Regions from separate parts of the Homo sapiens genome. Here all the other regions are linked to region 2. The links are contacts of gene promoters, found by promoter capture Hi-C in human tissues and cell types (Jung and others, 2019). All regions are on one chromosome and are shown on one strand. Each heading gives the region's core, a stretch centred on a gene start or on the middle of the fragment in contact. The rest is flanking DNA. Distances are from core to core; before and after follow the strand shown. Region 1 has its middle 31 kb from the start of NKX2-5. Region 2 holds the start of RPL26L1 (ribosomal protein L26 like 1). Region 3 overlaps CREBRF (CREB3 regulatory factor).

What was found. The method cuts DNA at HindIII sites, captures the fragments that hold promoters and counts their contacts. A contact is called where the count stands out against the background at its distance.
Region 1: a contact is called between a fragment that was not itself captured here and the fragment with the promoter of RPL26L1 in region 2, in 1 of the 25 tissues and cell types used here (spleen).
Region 3: a contact is called between a fragment that was not itself captured here and the fragment with the promoter of RPL26L1 in region 2, in 1 of the 25 tissues and cell types used here (IMR-90 fibroblasts).

The regions. Positions count from the first base shown.
Region 1 is chr5:173,202,774-173,205,524 of GRCh38, forward strand. No RefSeq gene overlaps it. Among named protein-coding and RNA genes, the nearest start is that of NKX2-5, 31 kb to the right of the region's middle. The HindIII fragment of the contact is 8,150 bases long and covers 1-2,751 here.
Region 2 is chr5:172,958,169-172,960,868 of GRCh38, forward strand. It overlaps RPL26L1 (ribosomal protein L26 like 1), which reads left to right and starts at 1,256. Exons shown (of 4, transcript NM_016093.4): 1 at 1,256-1,300; 2 at 1,697-1,873. The coding sequence starts at 1,706. RPL26L1-AS1 (RPL26L1 antisense RNA 1) reads right to left here and starts at 1,200. Exons shown (of 4, transcript NR_026682.1): 1 at 1,122-1,200; 2 at 1-89. The HindIII fragment of the contact is 17,043 bases long and covers 1-2,700 here.
Region 3 is chr5:173,100,259-173,102,958 of GRCh38, forward strand. The region is part of intron 4 of CREBRF (CREB3 regulatory factor); the gene reads left to right. Among named protein-coding and RNA genes, the nearest start is that of BNIP1, 43 kb to the right of the region's middle. The HindIII fragment of the contact is 5,379 bases long and covers 1-2,700 here.

The DNA.
Region 1 (2,751 bases), core at 143-2,642, 240 kb after region 2:
GGGAGAGCTGTTCCCGGGATGCCTGGAGGGCAGCCTGGCATTTGGGTCCAGGTTCATAATCTCAGAATCTGGGGGAAAGCATCTTTTTTTCCATAACTAGTTATGTCTCCCCCTAGACCCCATTTTTCTAGGACCCAATCAAGTTGCTTCCCAAACACTAAAGAATTCTTACAGGTTCCCGGCCTTTTCTTCATCTCACAGGACGCTCTGGTTTCTGCTGTCGGCCCTTCTCCCTCCTCTCCAGCAGTTCTAACCCCATCTGCCCGCAAAGCCTCTGTAAATAAGATAAACACAACAACAGATCTAATATCAAAGGCGTGGGAGGTTGAAAGTGGACACAGGTGATGTGCATGTAGAGCAGACGTCCCGTATGCCTCACCCGTCTTCAGACCACCCCAGCCGCTGCTGCAGGGAGCACCCCTCTGTGAGCACTGTCCAAGTGCACACAAGCACAACCTATGAGCGGGCCTTGCGCCCAGGCTGCCCACCTCTCACCTGCAGCCCGAGGGCTACCCTATAGCCATTGAGGAGTGAGGCGCTGAGGGTCCACTCGGTCCCATGCAAAACCTAGAACTGCAGGGGACTCCATCCCTGTGAGGAAAACCCTCCACCTATAGGAAATGGGAACGGGCAGAGCCCTCCCCTCCCCTCCCCCTCCTCCCTCTTTCTTTCTTTCTTTCTTTCTTTCTTTCTTTCTTTCTTTCTTTCTTTCTTTCTTTCTTTTTCTTTCTTTCTTTCTTTCTTTCCTTTCTTTCTTTCTTTCTTTTTCTTTCTTTTCTTTTCTTTTTCTCTTTCTTTCTCTCTCTTTCTTTCTCTTTCTCTTCCTTCCTTCTTTCTATAAAATATATATACCATAACATTTCTCGTTTTAACTATTTTCGAGCGTGCCATCCTGTGGCATTCAGTTCTTGAAGTACATTCATACTGTCATGCAACCATCAGTTGGCATGCACCCACCAGCCATATCCAGAAGTTTTTCATCTTTCTAAATGGAAGCTGTACACCTATTACCCCCCAATCCCTCCTCCCTCCAGCCCCTGGAAGTCACCATTCAATTTCGTGTCTACATGAATTGAACTACTCCGCGTACCTCATATGAGTGGAATCCTATGGGTATTTATCTTTTTGCGACTGGCTTATTTTATTTAGCATAATGTCCTCAAGGTTTGTCTATATTTTAACATGTTAACATTTTCTTCCATTTCAATCTGAGCTATTTGTTCAGGAAGAAAGCATTAAAAATTTTTTCCTTCCAATCACCACCAGTTACAGAGTTCTTTTTTTCTCCTCCACTCCCACTGCTTCACTTGACAAGTCTTAAAAAAATTCTGACCAGCCTAGGCAACATAGTGAGACCTCATCTCTATAAAAAATAAGCAGAAAATTCGCCAGGTGTGGAGGTGTGCACCTGTAGTCTCACCTACTCAGGAGGCTGAGGTGGGAGGATTGCTTGAGACTGGGAGGTTGAGGCTGCAGTGAGCCGTGATCACACCACTGCACTCCAGCCCGGGCAACAGAATGAGACCCTTTCTCAAAAGCAAACAAACAAAACAAAACAAAAAACCCAAAAAACCTCCTTCCTTTTTATGGCTGAATAATATTCCATTGTATGCACATTCTGCATTTTATTTACCTATTCATCTGTCAGTGGACACTTGGTTTGCTGCCACCTTTTGGCTATTGTGAATAATGCTGCTGTTAATCTTGGTGCACAAATATCCACTCTGCTTTCACTTTTTTGGGGTATATACCTAGAAGCGGAATTGCTGGATCTTATGGCAATTGTATGTCATTTTTTTTTGAGGAATTGTCATAACTTTTTCTACAACAGCCACACCATTTTACATTACCAGCAGCAAGGGACCAGGGTTCCGATTTCTCCACATCTAGCCAGCGTTTTCTTTCTTTCTTTCCTTTAACTTTTTTTTTTTCCTGTGTTGCCCAAGCTGGTCTCAAACTTCTGGCCTCAAGTGATCCTCCCACCTCAACCTCCCCAGTAGCTGGGTCTGTAGGCATGCACCACCATGCCCAACTTTTGCTTCTTCTTCTTCTTTTTTTAATTCCTTCCTTCCTTCGTTCCTTCCTTCCCTCCTTCCATCCCTCCCTCCCTCCCTTCCTCCCTCCCTTCCTTCCATCCTTCCTTCCCTCCTTCCATCCTTCCTTCCTTCCTTCCTTCCTCCCTTCCTTCCTTCCCTCCTTCCCTCCCTCCTTCCTTCCTTCCTTCGTCTCTCTCTTTCCTCTTTCTTCTTTTTCTTTCTTTCCCTGCTTGTTTGCCTTCTCTCTTTCTTTTGATAGTAGCCATTCTAATGGGCATAGAATGGAACCTCGTTGTGGTTTGGATTTGCGTTATCCTAATGACTAGTAATGCTGACCATCTTTCCATATGCTCACTGGCCATTTGTATATCCTCTGTGGAGAAATGTCTATTCAAGTCGTTTGCCCATTTTAAAATCAGTTTTTAAGAAATTGTTGTTGGCCAGGCATGGTGGCTCACGTCTGTAATCCCAGCACTTTGGGAGGCTGAGGCGGGTGGATCACGAGGTCAGGAAATCGAGACCATCCTGGCTAACACGGTGAAACCCCATCTCTACTAAAAATACAAAAAATTAGCCGGGCGTGGTGGCGGGCGCCTGTAATCCCAGCTACTCGGGAGGCTGAGGCAGGAGAACGGCCTGAATCCGGGAGGCAGAGCTTGCAGTGAGCCGAGATTGCGCCACTGCACTCCAGCCTGGGCAACAGAGTGAGACTCTG
Region 2 (2,700 bases), core at 6-2,505:
CAGGAGAATCGCTTGAACTTGGGAGGCGGAGGTTGCGGTGAGCCGAGATGGTGCCACTGCACTGCAGCCCAGGGAACAAGAGCGAAACTCTATCTCAAAAAAAAAAAAAAAAAAAATCTAGTATTAGTAAACGCAGGTGTTTAACAATGTCACCACTACATGTCAGGGAACACTGATAAACTAAGAGAGAGCACGGGACCTGCCTGGGTGTGGCTGCTGTACTTGCAAGACATCTTCCCTCTCTGAGTTTCAGCATGCCGGCATTTGGCACTAAGTTGTCGTTCAACATATATGGAATGAATGAACGAAAGGGAGAGTTGGAGTTAATAACACCTTGCATAGAATAAACCCCGTCGGTTCTTAACCCGAAGAGAGTCGAGACCCAGAGCCCTTTTCCTTCCCTGCCGCCACGGTGCCCACGGAGGGGGCGTGGTTGATCTCCCTCACAGCTCCGTCGGGACCAGAGACCCGGGGACCTTTTACACCCAGGGTCCGCGCAAAGTGTCGGCCTAGCCAGTGGTTGGGTGGCGCCCGGGCCTCCAGGCAGTCTTCCAGGGGTCGGCGAACGAAACGCGGAGCTCGGGAGCGACCCGGCGGGGCCAGGCACGGGCAGAAGGGCCAAGAGGGCCACAGGTGGGCGCGGAGCGGCCGGAGTGGGCGGGGACTGGATGAGAGGGGCGGGGTCTAGGAGAGAGGGGCGGGGCGGCGGCCACAAACCCGCAGGCACGCCGCCGGCCGCCGTTTAGTCCCAGAGATAGAAAAAAGTAGAGGTAGGAGGGCGCGGCGGCTCACGCCTGTAATCCCAGCACTTTGGAAGGCCGAGGCGGGCGGATCACGAGGTCAGGAAATCGAGACCATCCTGGCTAACAGGGTGAAACCCCGTCTCTACTAAAAATACAAAAAATTAGCCGGGCGTGGTGGGGGGCGCCTGTAGTCCCAGCTACTCGGGAGGCTGAGGCAGGAGAATGGCGTGAACCCGGGAGGCGGAGCTTGCAGTGAGCCGAGCTCGCGCCACTGCACTCCAGTCTGGGCGACAGAGCGAGACTCCGTCTCAAAAAAAAAAAAAAGAACACCAGTAAGCCTCTACCGCAGGCCCTACACAAGCAGGCCCTTGTACTCACTGGCATCGCCCTCCCGGGGCCGCCAGGAATGAGGCACTGAGATCCCACCCCAAGCCGCTGGGGGCGCCATTCGACTTCGCTCCTACGGAAATGGGGCTTCGATGTCTTTCTGCGCTTGCGCGGCACGGAAACTCACTTCCGGCCCTGCGCACTCAGGGTCTGAGGCAGCTAGTAGCCGGGTGAGTGGAGGCTGGAGTTTTCTCGGACAGTGAACTCTACCGCCCCGTGAGACCCTGCCCTATGTGTCGCGGGAACACATGTCACCCCACAGCTCTCTTTGAGTGACCTCCCGACCACCCATTCCTGCCTAACCCTAGCATTCCTTCCTCAGCCTCAAGGTCCCAGTGCTACCCTCTCCCCCACGACCCCTTTAGACGGGCATGCGACCTCCACACACGCCTCACTTTATGTGATAGTCAGACTAGTCGCATCTCTCTGTCCTCCCTCAGTTGCCTTTTCAGAGGCTACCTCCCCTGTAGAGCCTTTGTTGGGGGATGAGGAGTGTCTTGGGTCGAGAACAGGCCCCTGTAACCCACTGAGCGCCCCTTCATTCCGTCTCTCTCCGCCCTTTGTAGAGGGTCACCATGAAGTTCAATCCCTTCGTTACCTCGGACCGCAGTAAAAACCGCAAACGTCACTTCAATGCCCCCTCACACGTGCGCAGGAAGATCATGTCATCCCCGCTCTCCAAGGAGCTGCGGCAGAAGTACAATGTCCGCTCCATGCCCATCCGCAAGGACGACGAGGTCCAGGTACGTCTCCCTCCGGCGCTAGTGGCGCTCGGACACCGTTGCCTAAGAACGTCATGCGTGGAGCAGTCACAGACTCACATGCCTCAGGACTCTGGAAAGTAGTGTGACCCTTCAGATGTGTTAGGCCAGAGATAGGGTTCAGAGCCACCAGAGAGTGCCTGCGTTGCTTTAGAGCATTTAATTATTTAATAGTAATAGTAAAATTTAATAAAACAGTATGTCAACCAAGCAAAAACCTGCTTTTTTGTTTGTTTTGTAGAGATAGGGTCTTGCTATGTTGCCCAGGCTGGTCTCTGAACTCCTGGCCTCAAGTGATCCTCCCACCTCAGCCTCCCAAAGCACTGGGATTACAAGTGTGAGCCACCGTGCCCCACCAAAAATACTTTTGATTTAACCTTCTGGCTGCTAGTTTGCCAAGTGTTGTTGCCCAGGGTGGCTTGTTGAACCAGACTGTAGGGGAAGGTGCTGCAGTGAGAGTAGTGTTTTAGTGTATTTGGGTGTAGTGGGATTGATGGACAGAGATTTGTGGGAGCTGGCCATGTGATAGCATTGGATTTGGCAGGAGAACTGGTAAAGATGCAGCGAGTCACTCTTTCATAATTTCTAAAAGACTGGCCCATGTGAGAACGTACAAGCCCTCTGTTCTCTGTGATTGGAGCTTAGAATGCATGAGAGGAGGGAAGGGAGTTGGATATGAGTGAAATAAGCAGGGGCTAGATTCATTCCTCAAAGGAATATTTATGGAGCACTTACCAGAGATTGTTCTAGGACAAGATTGACGAGGCCCTTGTTCTCATGGAGATCACGTTTTAGAGCAGGGTTTCCTA
Region 3 (2,700 bases), core at 7-2,506, 140 kb after region 2:
AGTCACCATGCACAGCCAAAATTATTTTATATATAGTTATTTTTAATGCCTTTTTAACTTTTATACTAGCATTAAAAGTGTTTTGCATACCACTGTTACAGTATTAGAGCATTCTGAATATGACTGTTCTTATTTTTACACAGTGAATTTTATACTTTCATGTTTTTCTTTTCTTTTTTTTTTGGAGATGGAGTCTCACTCTCTCGCCCAGGCTGGAGTGCAGTGGCGTGATCTCAGCTCACTGCAACTCCACCTCCCGGGTTCAAGCGATTCTCCTGCCTCAGCCTCCTGAGTAGCTGAGATTACAGGTGACCACCACCACGCCCTGCTAATTTTTGTATTTTTAGTAAAGACAGTGTTTCACCATGTTGGCCCGGCTAGTCTCAAACTCCTGACCTCAGGTGATCCACCTACCTCAGCCTCGAAAAGTGCTGGGATTACAGGCGTGAGCCACACCGCTCCCCCCCAACCCATATGTTTTCATGCTGTTAGTTAGCATCCTTTCATTTCAACTTGAAGAACTCCCATTAACATTTCTTGTGAAGCAGTCCTACTGGTGATGAACTCCCTCAGCTTTTGTTTTCTGGGAGTCTTTTTTGTTTTCCCTTAAGAGAGAGGGTCTCACTGTGTTACTCAGGCTGGTCTTGAACTCCTGAGCTTAAGCAATCTTCCCAGTTCAGTCCTCTTGAGTAGCTGGAACTACTGATGTGCATCATCATGCCCAACTTAGGAAAGCTTTTATTTATTTTTTTCATTTGTGAAGGACAGCTGGCTTGCTGGATATGGTGTTCTTTGTAGGGTATTGTTTTTGTTTTTTTCTCTGAGACAGGGTCTTAACTCTTGCTCAGGCTAGAGTGCAATGGCGTGATCCTAGCTTACTGCACCCTCAATCTCCTGGGCTCAAGCAATCCTTCCACCTCAGCCTCCCAAGTAGCTGAGGTGTATGCCACCACACCCAGCTAATTTTTGTATTTTTTTTGTAGAGATGGGGTTTTACCATGTTACCCAGGCTGGTCTTATACTCCTGGGCTGAAGCATTTTACCTGCCTTGGCCTCCCAGAGTGCTGGAATTACTTGCATGAGCCACCATGCCCAGCCCAGTGGTTTTTTTTCTTTCAGCACTTTGAATATGTTATCTCACTCTCTTCTAGCCTTCAAGGTTTCTGCTGAGAAAACCACTGACAGTCTTATGAGAGTTTCATTGTATATGACAAGTTGCTTTTCTCTTGCTGCTTTCAAAAGTCTGTTTGTCTTTGACTTTCCAGAATTTGATTATAATGTGTCTTAGTGAAGTTTTTTTTTTTTTTTTAAGACGAAGTCTTGCCACTCTGTCGCCCAGGCTGGAGTGCAGTGGCACCATCTTGACTCACTGCAACCTCTGCCTCCTGGGTTCAAGTGATTCTCCTGCCTCAGCCTCCTGAGTAGCTGGGATTACCGACACCCACCATACCTAGCTAATTTTTGTATTTTTAGTAGAGACGGGGTTTCACCATGTTGGTCAGGCTGGTCTTGAACTCCTGACCTCAGGTGATCTGCCCCATCGGCCTCCCAAAGTGCTGGGATTACAGGTGTGAGCCACCGCGCCCGGCCTGTCATTATTACTTTAAATAAGCTTTCTGCCCCTTTCTCTTTCTTTACTCTTTTCACTATTCCTATAATGTGCATTTCATTTTGCTTGATGGTGTCCTATAAATCCTGTAGGCTTTCTTTATTCTTTTTCATTCCTTTTTCTTTTTGTTCCTCTAACTGGATAATTTCAAATGACCTGTCTTGGAGCTCACTGCTTCTTTCTTCTGTTTGATCAAGTCTTCTGTTGAATTGCCCTATGGAATATTTCAGTTTAGTCCTTGTGTTCTTCAGCTCTAGATTGCATTTGGTTGTCTATGTTCTCTTGTTGCTCACTGAGCTTCTTTAAGACAATTATTTTGAATTCTTTGTTAGGAAGTTCATAGATCTGCATTATTTTGGATCAGTTGCTGGTGCTTAATTTTCTTCCTTTGCTAGTGTCATTTGTCCCTGATTATTTGTGATCCTTGTGGCCTTTAATTGGTGTCTATACATTTAAACATGTGGACTCCTCTTCCAGTCTTTATAGACTGGCTTTGCCAAGGAAAGCCCTTCACTTGTCAGGTCATCTAGAGGTTCTGGGTGGGCTTGCTGAAGGGCTCTGCAGGCAAGTTTGCTCCTGGAGTCCTTGGGTAGGCTGGCCTATTGCTGGAGTCAGCAGCCAGGTGGGTCTGAGGCTTGGGTCTGTAGAGGTCATCCTGGTGCCTGGTACTGTGGAAGCAGGCCTGGAGCCTGGATCATTTGGGGTCAGTCTGAAACCTGGGTCCATAGGAGCTGAACCGGCAGTGGGGTGGGCTTTGAGTCTGAATCCACGAGAACTTACCTGGCACCTGTATCTGTGGGAGTGGACTTGGTCCTGACTCCACAGGCACCAGCGTGGCATGGGGGTCTCTTGGGGCAGGCCTGTCAACTAGGACTGTGGGTGTGAGCCTGGAGTCCAGGACTCCAGGGATGGGTGGGCCCTGAGCCTAGGTCTGCAGCTGCTGGCTTGGTGCTGGGGTAGACCTGTAACCAGGTTCTGCTGGGGCTAGCTTGGGTCCATGGGAACCATTTTGGAGCTTGGGGCCATACTTTTCTTTGACCTTTAACTCCACTCTAAATTCATCCTTGATCTCTTGACTTCATTCCTTCTGG